Regions from separate parts of the Homo sapiens genome. Here region 1 is linked to region 2. Evidence: promoter capture Hi-C in 16 types of primary human blood cells and fetal thymus (Javierre and others, 2016). All regions are on one chromosome and are shown on one strand. Each heading gives the region's core, a stretch centred on a gene start or on the middle of the fragment in contact. The rest is flanking DNA. Distances are from core to core; before and after follow the strand shown. Region 1 holds the start of RCSD1 (RCSD domain containing 1). Region 2 holds the start of ILDR2 (immunoglobulin like domain containing receptor 2).

Region 1 (6,793 bases), core at 1,265-3,764, 650 kb after region 2:
CAGGATATATGAAGGGGAAGGCCCAGGGTAGACTGAAGGAAGTGGTTCCGTGTTAGCCAGCCAGACCTCCAGAGAGAGAGGGGAACCAACTCCTCGGAAAGTCACTTTCCCTTCCCCTTGGGCTGTTGTTTCCTCCCAGCCCCCAGAGCAGCCAGTTACAATCCCAGATAACCCAGCAAACCTGGGTGTTTATCAGCAGAGTTACTGCTATTCTGGCTCCTGGAGATCTTCTGTAGGGACAGAAGAAGAAGATAAGGGGAGTACACACACCACACCTACTCATGGCTGCCTAAACACAGCTCGGGGCTACCTCTTGGTCCCTCCCTCCCCGTTTTCCACCCCCTCCCTCAGGAGAAGTCCCAGTCTGGGGCCCAAATAGCTCTGGAGCAGCATTAAACTCTGCACTGGGGACCCAGGAGCATGGTGGAGGCCAAGCTTGTTTGCTTTGTGGTCATCTGTTCTCAGCCAAGAGAGGCCTAAGCAGGGCGTGGGGAGCAGCTGCAAGTCACCTTGGGTGACTGATGTTATCTAGGCCTAACGGTTTCCTCTGGGTAAGCACTTCCGCCCTCCTGTTTGTGAAGCCAGAAACCTGTGCTGGGGCAGCCCCATTCTGAGCACAAAGGAGGACTAGGTAGAGGGAGAAAGGAAAAGGCCCTGTGGAGCAGAGTTAGAAGACCTGATAGTAGACTATGCAGTCATCACTACGTCCTGCACCTTTAAAAAGAAAGGAAAGAAGCACGAGCAAAAGTGTGCCTTGCAGGTTACCAGTAAATACCCTTCCTTACTGCCGACTCTGCTCTCGAGTCTTCACCTGAGCAGCCATGTGGCTGGACTGGGAGGGGCCTCACTATTAATTCCTGGGAGTGAGGGCTCTTTTCACTGGGTCCCCGAGTGCCTGTCTCTAAATAAAAGAAATATCAGGCTCTTATTCATCTGAAGCTTGTACATGGGGCTAAGCATGATAAAAACAGCCACTTTTTGCAGAGTGCCTACTACATTGTATAGGTGAGGAAAATGAGAATCAGAGCAGTTAAGTGACTTGTCTAAAAAATACAACTAGAAAGTAGCAGAGCTGGAATTCAGCCCTCAATCTGTCTGTTCCTAAAACCAGGCGTCTTCCTCTATGCTTAGCTAAGCTAAAGAACTAGAAGCCACTCTGGCATTAGGGCTGCCAGTGTTTTAGAAAGTTGGGCCTTAGAAAGTTCTAGGACAGGAAGGAGGCCATATTTCTAAGACTGGTACCCAAAGCAGCAATCTAAGTGCCTGAAAGTGCAAAGATGGTGCCGGGATAACCAGAATCAGGGTAGTCTTTGTAGCAGGAGCAGACTCTCAGCCTTTTTTCTCTACTGTTTCTCCACATGTCTCTTCACAGTGCTCACCATCACCTGTCCCATTGCCCACCTCTGATGGGGCTCCCCTCCCCTGGTTGAGCTGGGGTTGGGCGGGTGAGAATGCTGTGGGATAACCCAGAGGCGTCATATACCCAGCCAATACCCTGGCACTCACAGGTCTCTCAAGGCATTTTCCTGTTTCTCTCTGCCGAAGGGTCTGAAGGGGGCCGGGATCCGGGTAGCAGGGAGTGACCCTGGTGCAGATTCCAGTCCCCGAATCCCTCCCATGCGGTCTCTGCTGCCCAGCCGGGATGGCCCTAAAGGAAGGTTGCTATGCTGGGCCCTATGGGAATCAGATGTTGAGCATCTTGCCCTTTGCTATATTTAACAGGAATGGAGACGAGGCCCTTTAGCAAGCAGCTTGTGGGAGCCAAAATTCCCACAAAACCGAATGCATCAGTCAAAGCAAGGTTTGAAGAAAAGATTTACCACTTCAGGGAGCTTGGAAAACTTTGCGTGGATTCCTGATTTTCCTCCTCCTCCTCCTCCTTCTACTCGTATACAGAAGATAGATGGATAGATGGATAGATAGTGGTTTCCTGGAAGGTGGAGAGGAAAAGAGGTGAGAAGGGAAAGGTGGTCCCGTCGGCGCCACGCTGAGCTCTGAAGCCTCGGTCAGAAGGGCTCCTCTTTTGGTAGAACACAAACGCCTTCCACCAGGGAGGGTCCTCGAACTCCACCCAAGAACTGCAGGGAAACCAGGTATGACAGTAATGCAATTTTAAAAAGAGGGAGAGGAAGAAGGAAAGCAGGAAGGATGGACACAAAAGAAGGAAATCGAAAAGAGAGGAAACAAAAAGAATTAAAGGACCACTCTAATTCTTGAAGGGACAGGAAAAAGAAAGAAGGCGCATTAAGGGAGGGAGACGTTGAGAAGGACTGAGACCGTGGCAAAGCCCAGGGTCCTGAGAAACTTCGCGAGACAGAGGGGCCCGGTGGCTGCCCATCCCCATGTTTGGGCACATGGAGTCGTGGCTCCCGCTCTTGAGTCCTGCCCTGGGAGGGACAGTATCTGTTTAGATTTGCGTCTAAATTTAAACCCTGATCGTCGGCCTCCCTCCCCGCTCCCCACCCTCCCCTCCCCTCCCCTTCCTCCCTCCCTCCCTCCTCCTCCTTCCTCGTTCTCTCGCGCAGGGCCCCCGCGGCCGGGGCAGTCCCGCAGCCGAGCGCAGCCGGGCGCGCGCCACCGCCCACTCGCCCTGTGCCCGCCGCAGCCCGAAACTGGCCACGGCCGGGAGCGGAGGGGACAGCGGGGATCGTGAGCTCCGGCCCGGGCGAGCGGGTGCGTCTGCCGCAGAGTCGGCACCTGAAGGACATGGAGGTAAAGGACCCCGGAGGGAGACGCGGGGCTGAGCGGTGAGCGGTGTATCGGGCGCCCCTTCCCCGGGCGGCTGCCCCTGCCCTGAGCATGGAGCACGCGGCTCATCGCTGCTGCCAACTAGAAGGGCAAATGCCTGCTGTTCCGACGCCTCCTTGACCAACTCCGAAGGATCGTCCCTGGTCCCACCTAGGACACCCGGGTTGGGAGGCTGGGGTTGGTAAGGAAAGATCTCAGAGGGAGAGAAAAGGGCTTTCCTAGAGGCCCGGGTATTTTGGCTAGGAACTTAAATGCTAAAAAAAAAAAAAAAAAAAAAAAAAAAAAAAAGTTAGGTGCAGCCAAGGTTTGTAAATGGGTAAACGTGTCAGCAAAAACTGCAAGAAGGCAGAAGCCCTTCAATCTGAAGAGATGGGTATTGAAAGAGAAACAGAACTGGCAACACGAGGCCAGCACGTCTTCGTGGGTCTGTGGGCTTCCCTTTTCGCTTTCGGAGTGGCATTTTAGAGAGTCCAGTTGTCTTCTTGCTTCTGAAGTCCTTCCTGTGTCTGTCGCATCTTCTTCCATAACTTTCTGAAAGCTCCCCTTACTGGTCAGTCGAATGACATTATTTCTGATAAAACTTAAGACTCCCTTGGACACCCTTGCCTCTGAAGCTGTGTGTATGGAGGTATGCTGGCCACATCTGCAGGCTTTGCCAGAGGGAGGCCCCGCACTTCTCTGCCTGCTGAGAGGAGGTCCGGGGACTTTCCTTGTTCTGTTCCAACCTCAGCAGAGGAGTGGTTGGGTGTATTCCCCACATCCCTCTCTTCTGCACATCTTGAGGCTTCCCTGTGTTTCCTCCTTGAAAATGAGACCTGATATGTAGCCCTAAGTCAATCTTAGTAGGACCTGGGGCTTTTGAGAAGATGCAAATGTTATATAGTTTTAAAGGTGATTCCCACTCATATTCAAAAGGAAACATGTGTTGCTCACTAGACTGTGGTCAGTGCAATCAGGATTCACAGTTAACTCCGCTATCTCTTCCCCGCTCCAGGCTCTGTGCCTGGGCCCTGGTGGTCTTTTTATTTTTTTCTTTTGAGACAGGGTCTCATTCTGTTACCCAGGCTGGAGTGCAGTGGCACAATCTCAGCTCACTGCAACCTCTGCCTCCCAGGCTCAAAGGATCCTCCCACCTCAGCCTCCCAAGTGGCTGGGACTACCAGTGTGTACCACCATGCCTGGCTAGTTTTAAAATTTTTTGTAGAGACAAGTTCTCACTATATTACCCATGCTGGTCTTGAACTCCTGGGCTCAAGTGATCCTCTAAGCCTTGGCCTCCCAAAGTGCTGGATTTGCAGGCATGAGCCACACCACTCCTGGCCCTGGTTGTGTTTTCTAAGCTAGACTCTGTGCTTGCCGGCAAAGCTTCATGACTTCTCTAAAGGGGCAATAAGTTTGTCCTTTAGAGAAGTCAGGGAGCTATATTCAGGCATCCAGCCCAGCCAGTTGTCTTCAAGGAACAGGGAATCACCTTCAAGGAGACTTTATAGACTGCAAGAACCACTGGAGTCTAATATGGACCCTCCACAGAAACATTTGCAAGGCCAGGAAGCTCTGGCAGATTAGGGCTGGCGGTGAGGCACGCACACAGCGAAGCTCAGCAGGTGGTGTGCACACATCCACCCAAAGATCACACAAACACAAAACAACAGGGTTCTCTCTGAGCTGGCCACTGCTTCAGGGCAGAGGAGGGAAATGGCCCAGGCAACACCCAGCTTCTTGGGTTGGGTGAAGTCTCCTTAAGAAATTGTTTTAGAAGTGGCTTCCCTCTTCTGGAAGTGTACAAACTGCCTTAGGCCCCAGGCTGCAGATTCACTATGATGTATGGCCTGTCTAACCTCTTGAAGAAAAGGATTGGAGATAAGAGAAAAGCAACTCTTAGACTTCAAGCAGGTTGCTGCTGGAGGGCCAAATGCAAGTGTCAACTTTGTTCTAGGAAAACAAGGAGGGTCTCCTTCCACAGAGGCAGTTTCTCCCCCCTCAGATGAGGAAGGAATAGTGTATGGCAGAGGCCCTGAAACTATCAGCTGAGCAACTTCCTGTGTGGCTTGGGGGGTGGAGGGGATTGCAGTAAAAGAGAAGGCCCTCCCTTATTGAGATGTGTAGTAACTTATGCAGGATTCCACCAAGATACCAAAATCACTCCCGTGCTAGGGTTTGGGAGGGACGCAGGGAGGGAATAGCTCAGCCAGCCAGAAGCCTGACAAATCACCCTGCGTCTCACATCCAGTAGGTCACTAAGCCTAGTCCATCAATTTGCTGGTTGGACAGTGGCTGCTTTTGAAGTTTCTTTGTCCAAATGCCTGGAAAACAAAAAACAACAAAAATGAAACAAACAAACAAAAAAACAACATGCAACTGCTAGTGAAGAAAGTAAAGAGGAAATCTAGGGGCCAGGGAAGTGACCATTCTTAGCCAGGAAGTAAACTTTTCATGGTGAAGCATGATATGCAGGAGTTGGATTTGGGGGTTTCTGAAAATCTCAGAGTAAAACCCTCTTTTGAGAGGTGAAACTCAGTTTTGGGACATGAAAGGGCTACTGTATCTGGAAAGAAATTAAGTTATATTACTTCTCAGTACTAGGAATCCAAACCAGACCAAAGAGGGTTACTCAATATTCATTCTCTAAAGCTCACGTATTATTGGAAGTCTTTGAGAGATCTTTTTTTAAAGTCACTGTTACCATTATCAACAACATCAATCTTCATCCCTCATAAAGCCCTGTGGAATAAACAAAGTATAGATGCCATCTGATCCCTGCCTTTTAAAAGCTCACAACCCAATAAAGGGACTATATCCTGTCACATATATAATCTTCAAATGCATAAATGCCAGTTGAATACTGCTGCAGATCATGAGTTCTGCAGGAGTTCAGACTAGATTAGGTTCAGAAGAAGCCTTGGAAGAAAGATGTGGGTAAGGTGGAGAAGGTATAAGGGATGGGCACAGGGAGAACATGCCAGCTTTGTCCAGCTGGCTGGGAAGGAAGGTAGGAAAGCAGTAACAGAAAAAAATGAAAGTAATAAGATAAATCCAAGGTCACTGAGTATAGTAGATGCCCAGCTAAGTGGGTGAGTGGGAGCTGAAATCCAAGTCACTTGGAGGAAAAGGTTACTTTTTGTTCATACAAAATCTCCTTGCCTAGTTGAGCCTCAAACGGGTGGCTTTTTCTAATTCATGCAGAGGCCATCTGCAACTCTTGAAGGCCAGAGTTGTATGGCCCTGGATTCTGCTCCATGGACAGTAGGAAACTCTGAGAGGTGTTGAGGCAGCTGGCAGCAGTGATGTAGCCGGGATGATACAGCAAAAATGCCACTTCATGGAGTGAGCAAGGGAACCAGGTGAGAAAGCATCTTTTCCAGTACAGGTATATTCTGACTTCAGGATACAATAAGAATGGAGAAGATGGAAAAGAGTAAAGACCATGCGCTGGAAGGGAAGTCAGAAATCACCAAGCTGCCCAGAAGAGTGAAGTTCTCTATGGTGCCAGGGAAAATGGCAGTACCAACTTTTACAGCTCCATACAAAGCCTTTTGCAGGCAGATTTTCTCATTGGTCTTTGAGTCTCCAGAATGAGCACGGTGCCTGGCATATAGTCATATAATTTCTCAATAAAAGTTTGCTTGATAAATGATTAGCATAAATAGGGAACTCCTTCCCCTCTCGGTCTGTAGCTCAAACGTCTCCACCTCTGGAAGGCTTCTGTGAAGCCCCCAGACTCTACAGCACTCTCAGAGCACTTTGTTCAAGCCACTATTAGAACACTAGGCAGAACTGGAACTGTCAGCCTCCCTAACTGTCACCCCGGAAGGCTCCTTGAGGGCAGGGGCCATGTCTTATATATTTAGAGCCTAATGGGCACCAAGAAAGGCTTGTTGCATGAGCAAATATTGAAGAGGGAAGGAAGATCAGGGTTTTTTTTTTTAACAAGCAGTGTTTAGATATGTTGGTTTTGATTGTTCTAAGCAGAATGTCCACCACTCCCTAAGAAATACAAACCTGTTATGATACAAATGTGATTCTCCTCTAGAAGAGATAATAGGTA
Region 2 (6,058 bases), core at 948-3,447:
TGAGAGAACTGGAATCTAGTCCCTAATCAATCATGAACGTGCTATGTGCATATTGCCTCTCTAGGACTCCATCTCTATAAACTGAGAGGGCTGAACTACAGTTCCTGTAGTACCCTCCAGTGATATGATTCCATTTCATAAAAAGCTGTGAGCCATCTAAAGAGAGCTCTATGTTTCCCTTCTTCTCTCACTCCCTGCAAACCCCCAGAGTACTTCTTTTAGGCAGACCCCAGCGTGTCTGTAAAGAGCACCTCTGACTCAGGGACCCCTCCCCCCCCCCCCCGATGCCTGGCTGACTTCAGTGCTGTTGTGATACAGGCTCAAGGACTAAGTGCCCTGAGAATATTGATAACCGAGAGTAGAGGCAGATTAAGGATGTGAAGAATCAGTGAGGGTGGGAGTGGAAGGCACTGGGAGGCCAGGGGAGCGGGGTGGCATGGATCAGCCAAACCCTGAAATTAGAGATGATTCATATCTGAATAATGTGGGAGGGATGAACTCAAAGCAGCCAAAAGAAGAGGCTAACTCTGCTGAGGATGCCTCCCCCAGCCTAAACCCAGCAGTGGGGCAACGGCAATGTTAGGGGCATTTCATTTGAAATGGGAAAAATATTTAGGCAATGAAGAATCTTATTCTGAAGCTAAGGGAAATGGGGTATTTGCCTTTTCTTGCTAAATGTATTTTACCCCCTTTACATGACTTGTTTTAGCTATTTTAAGCTTGTTCCCCTTTGCCTAGTGCCTTGATTTTGTCCAGATCTTCTGGCTGGTGATGCTAGAGGTGACAAAACTTCTCATGTGGTACTATTGTCCCTTTTCTCTCCTGCCTTCCACCCCCATCCTGTCCTCACCTTTCTGATCCCTTTTTCCATTTCTTCCATCATTCTGCCTCCACCTTGATTTGAATGGTTGCCTCTGACCCAGTCCAAGCTATCCAGACATTCCTCACCCCCATCCTACTCCCTTCAGCAGGGCTGCTTTGTGAATCTCTCAGGGCTGGCCACCCCAAGGCCCTGTATCCCTATGGGAATCGGAATCCTCATGTGGGGAAATAGGTTAAGAACAAGAGCATCTACTGACCCCAGCAGAATGGGGAGAAAGTTCACCAAAAAGGAGGGGAGGGCACAGAGGACCCAGCTAGACCAGTGACTTTGATGCTGGGGAGAAGCCCAATGCCTCTAAATCTCTCTGCAAATTATCTTTTAGGGAGCGGAGAGTGCACCTATTAGAAAGGCTCTTCTGCTTTCTAATTATCATTTGGGACCACTCCCCAAATGATACCAAGTAAGAGAGAGCCAGGCTCTAAACTCCACAACCAGTGAAGGTTCCATCCCCATCTTCTTCCCAACCTCCAGTTCCTTGCACCCTCCAGAGAGCCACAGAGAGAATGCCCTGGGTCCCCCTCCTTCTCTAGGGAAGAAATTAAGGAGACAGTCCTCTAGCCTCCACCTCCAGAAAACCAGTTCATTTAATTAATCAGCTCCCTCTGAGCTTCCTTTATTCCAGCCAGGCTTTTCACAAGACTCACAGCATTACAAACTCAGGATAAGACCGAAGGAGAACCGTTTTATGGAGGGGAAATGCATTCGAAAGAACAACCTCAGCGCCAATGAGTCAAACACCTGCATCTAGATGCGTCTCACTTGTCATTGGGCTTCTCCCCCGCCGCCCCCATCATTCTCTCTCTCTCTCTCTCACACACACACACACAAACACATACACAAACACACACGTTGCCCCCTCCCCCACTTTCCACCAGACCGCTAAGCAGCTTTAAACATGGTCAGTAAGGAGGAAAATGGGGGGGCGGGGGGCGCGGTGAGAACAGAACCACTACAGGAATATACAAAGTTATTCGTTTCTGTTGAAAAGGACTCTTACCTGTTAGCCAGAAGAGAGAAATCCACCTCAGCAAGACCCTATCCATCTTCCCCAACTTCCCAGCCGAATTACGGAGTGAGGAAAGTGGGAAATGGCTGGAACAGAAGGATCGCTGTCACCCCGCGGCAGCGGGCGGCGGCGGAGCGGCGGGCACCGGGCGTCCCTGGGCGCAGCGCCCGCCGGGCCGGCCGCGCAGGCGGGGCCGGGGGCTGGATCGCGCCGCCGGCTGAGCGCGCGCTGCCGCGGGCTTCCGGGGTCCGCGCAGCGCTCGGCGGCGCATCCGCATGCCCAGGCAGCGCGGCACGGGGCGAGCGTCTCCCCGCCGCAGAGCCCGCCGCGCGGGGGAGCTCGGCCGCCGCACCGCCTCCCGCGCCTCCGCCCCGCCGCCCGCTGCCGCGACTGCCAAAGTTTCTCGGTCACGTGCTGGCCCCCGGCGGCCCAAAGGTCAGCGTGGAGTGATTGAGGCCACGCGGAGAGAGGGGGTCTCTGGGTGGCAGGCAGCGAGAGGCGCGGGGGAGGCCGCCCCGCGGGCCGCGCCGAGCGGGGAGCGACCATCGCGGCTTCTCCCAGGGACGCCCGCGCTCGGGAACCCGGGCGAGAACGCTGGCTGGGGACTCGAGCAGGGGAGCCTGTGTCTGCGGGCAGCCACAGCCAACCTGAACGGGGAGAGAGTGACAGCGGCGAGGGTGGGGGACGGCGGGGACTTGGCGTAACTTCTTACAGGACTTAACTAGCAAGTCCTCTAGGCTAGAATGTTCGCTTCTGCGGTACCCCCGCCCCTCCGTCTGGTTTCCTTTTTGACAGTGCAAGGAACCAGGCAAGAGGCTCCGCAGAATTGAAAAAGGTAGGCGGGAATCTCGCGTCATTACTTTTTCCTGTTAAAATATGAGGTAGAATAAGGGCATCCGGCCCTTTAACAGAAAATATGTAAAACCAGAATGAGATAAATGATTATAACGGCTTAAATCCATCCAACACTTTATAGATTCCAGCACGCATTCACATGGATTATTCCTATTTGTCAGACGGATTTGTCTTGTGTCTCAAAATGTATGTGTTGAGAGAGAACTGAGAAATGTATGATTTGCTTAAGAAATATATTTATGAAGCCTCTACTAGGTGCTAAGAACTAAGGTTACAAAGTGGAATGAGATAGACTTCCTGCCCTTAGGAGCCTCATCTTGGGTCGAGGAAAGGGAGGAAGGTCAGACCATTAAAGACATGATACTTATTCCTAGTAAAACGGGGCAAGTGCAATAATGGAGACATAGAGAAAGTGCCTTGGGAACATAGAGGAAGGACTAAGTTAGTCGTGGGTGGGGAGGGGGCACCACGATAAAGGAGGGGTAACATCTGAGCTGGCATTTGCAGAAAGCACAAGATTTGAGCCATTCAAGGATCCCTGGTGGAAAGGGGGCAGGCGAGGGCATTCTGGGCAGAGGAAAGAGACATAGCAGAAAGGTCTCAAGTAGCATCTGAAAACAGAGTGGTGCCAGGCTGGAGGGGAGTTCCTGGAGCAGACAGACTCCACACCTAAGAGTGAATGTGTACACAGACAGGGAGAATATGTATGTGAACATGTGAGAAATGGGAAGAATAGACCCTGGGCAGCTGTCTTTTATGGCTGCCTGACATCTCAATTCCCTTCTTATTCTGAGAAATTCCAACTGCAGAAGCCAGAAAGTCTAGAGCCACCTCCCTGACCATCCCAGCTGGAATGCAGGCCCGGGCCCCTGGCATAGCCAGGCTGACCTCTCCCTCAGAGCTTTTTGATTCTGGAGCAAGTGGTGGATATAAGAAACAAGGACAGTGGAGAATTGATTTTGTCACTGAGGCAGCAGCAGCATCCAGTGTACATGATCAGCTGTGGCAGAGGTCAAGCCACCAGGATGCTCCAAGGTGTGATTTTTGGCTGTGGTCTTGCAGGCTCTCTGGGTTCTAGCCTCTCTTCTACACTTGGCTCTTCACTTCCCCAGCAATTCTTTGAGCCACCCAATATCCTTTCATAAACTCTTTCTTTGCTTATTTTGGCCAGGATGATTTTTTCATGCTATGTACTGCATGAGAGAAATTTGAGGACTATTTCCTTTCATATACAGAAAAATAAAAATATAGGAGGTACCTAACACTTGTGGGTTTCCTTTAGGTTCTAGGCAGAGTTCTACATGTTTAACAAACCTTCTCATTTAACCCTAAAGAGGGAACTTAGGCCCAGAGCATTTAACTAACTTCTCTAAGATCAGGCAACTAGTAAGTGGCAGAGCTAGGATTTGAATCTGACTCTAAAGCATATACTGTTTGCACCACAAAAAGAACATCTACACCAGAAGATTGAGATGATATATTTGTATTATGCTGTGCCATTTACTGCATCTATGTGTGTGTGTCACAGTGCACAAAAGAGCTTGAATAGTGTTTATTATCTAAGCACACATAACAGTGGCATTTTGGCCAGGTGCAGTGGCTCACACCTGTAATCTCAGCACTTCGGGAAGCTGAGGTGGGCGGATTGCTTGAGCTCAGGAATTTGACCAGCCTGAGTAACATGGTGAAACCCCATCTCTACAAAAAATACAAAAATTGCCAGGCGTGGTTGTACATACCTGTAGTCCCAGCTACTCTGGAGGCTAAGATGGGAGGACCACTTGAACCTGGGAGGTTGAGGCTGCAGTGAGCTGTGACCACGCTACTGGACTCCAGCCTGGGTGACAGAGTGAGACCCTGTCTCAAAAAAAATGGCATTTTATGCAAAACTTGGACATATGAGCAAGTTTATACATGTGAAAAATGGGAGATGGACTGAGTGAAGGAAGCCTGGATGTGTATATGAAGTGGAACGTGAATGCCCACAGAAATGAACTCATGTCTGCTCAGAGGAGGTGTCTGTGTAGTTGAATCAGGAGACTTGGAGAAGAGCTTGTGCCACAATGAATCATAGAATGCAGTTGCCTTGTCCATCATCCCAGAAATGTGTTTTCCATGTAGTGCCCTGCATGTCTACTTTATAGCCAGAGAGGTACACATGGTGTATCCTGAATCTTCCTGAGTGAGTGGCGCCCAGGCCATCCTGAAGGGGATGCTAAACTGGAGTGAATCACAATGTGTGCCCCTCCATCACCTTGCACATGTTGTTACCAAGGTGATGAAGGGTTAATATAAATTTTGAAATATATGTAATGATTCAAAACATGTAGCCTAAGGGATGGAGGTGGAAAGAGGATGGGAAAATGGTGTTATTTTGCCATATTGGTGGTGGGTGATGGGATATGGCACCCAGAGTCCCAATGTGGTTTCTGAACTTCCAGTATCAGGATCATATTACTGTGTTTGCTTAAACACAGATTCACAGGCTCTACTAAGAATAATGAGCTCAGAAACTCCAGGTGGAGCCCATAAATCTGCAGTTTAACCACTTTCCCCAGGTGCTTCCAATGCACAGTAATGTTTAAGAAGCAATACCTATCTTTTTGTTCTCCTGAGAAGCTGTTGAGCTGATGTTTTCTAATGAGCCTTGTATCTGGTTAAGCTCCAGTTGTTCATTCATTCTGACCTAATAGGACAGGACCCCAAATAGAGAGATTGATTCATCACAGCCAAGGAAGGGGTCTGGCTCTGCAATACTTCAAACTTTCTACTGCAATGAGACAAACATGTCACAACAATGACCTGTATGGGACCAGAACAAGATTCCCAGGAAGCCACAGCTGGGATTGTATGTGGTGGGGGGACTAACAGGCTGCTTCAGCAAAGCTCTACACTAGAGAACAGAATTAGGACACAGAGAAAAGAGAAGTGAACCACCACAAGGAGACATACTGGTAGCTGGTAGCAACCACATAGTTATAAATATAATGTAGCTGAATCCTCTTTAAAACATGATTTCATTGCAGACACACAGGCATGCATGCACATGAATACTGCTTAACGTGAGTCTGTTTAAAGCACACAGATAAAATCATATTTCTACTTCTCCTCTCTGATCCTGCATTCCAAGAGGAATATACGAAGTATGACTCTGAAACAGATACCATTTTTCTCATGTAAGTTTGGTCCATCTTTTTTTTTCTCTTGCTACCTTTTGGGTTTGTTATCTTTCCCATCCTCCATACCTTCAAAACCATCCTCAATGAATTATAAGTTAAAAAAAAAACTAAATTAAACCAAGGAACTAAAAAAAC

What was found. The method cuts DNA at HindIII sites, captures the fragments that hold promoters and counts their contacts. A CHiCAGO score of 5 or more calls a contact.
Region 1: a contact is called between the fragment with the promoter of RCSD1 here and the fragment with the promoter of ILDR2 in region 2, in 4 of 17 cell types (fetal thymus, activated CD4 T cells, naive CD4 T cells and 1 more). The highest score is 12.6, in fetal thymus.

The regions. Positions count from the first base shown.
Region 1 is chr1:167,627,718-167,634,510 of GRCh38, forward strand. RCSD1 (RCSD domain containing 1) reads left to right here and starts at 2,515. Exons shown (of 7, transcript NM_052862.4): 1 at 2,515-2,712. The coding sequence starts at 2,707. RefSeq lists enhancers at 344-403, 484-653, 664-713, 3,232-3,301 and silencers at 2,372-2,451, 2,472-2,691. The HindIII fragment of the contact is 3,174 bases long and covers 938-4,111 here.
Region 2 is chr1:166,973,343-166,979,400 of GRCh38, forward strand. It overlaps ILDR2 (immunoglobulin like domain containing receptor 2), which reads right to left and starts at 2,198. Exons shown (of 10, transcript NM_199351.3): 1 at 1,881-2,198. The coding sequence starts at 1,926. It also overlaps a transcript of MAEL not described here. RefSeq lists silencers at 2,048-2,097, 2,158-2,447, 2,568-2,617. The HindIII fragment of the contact is 7,595 bases long and covers 718-6,058 here.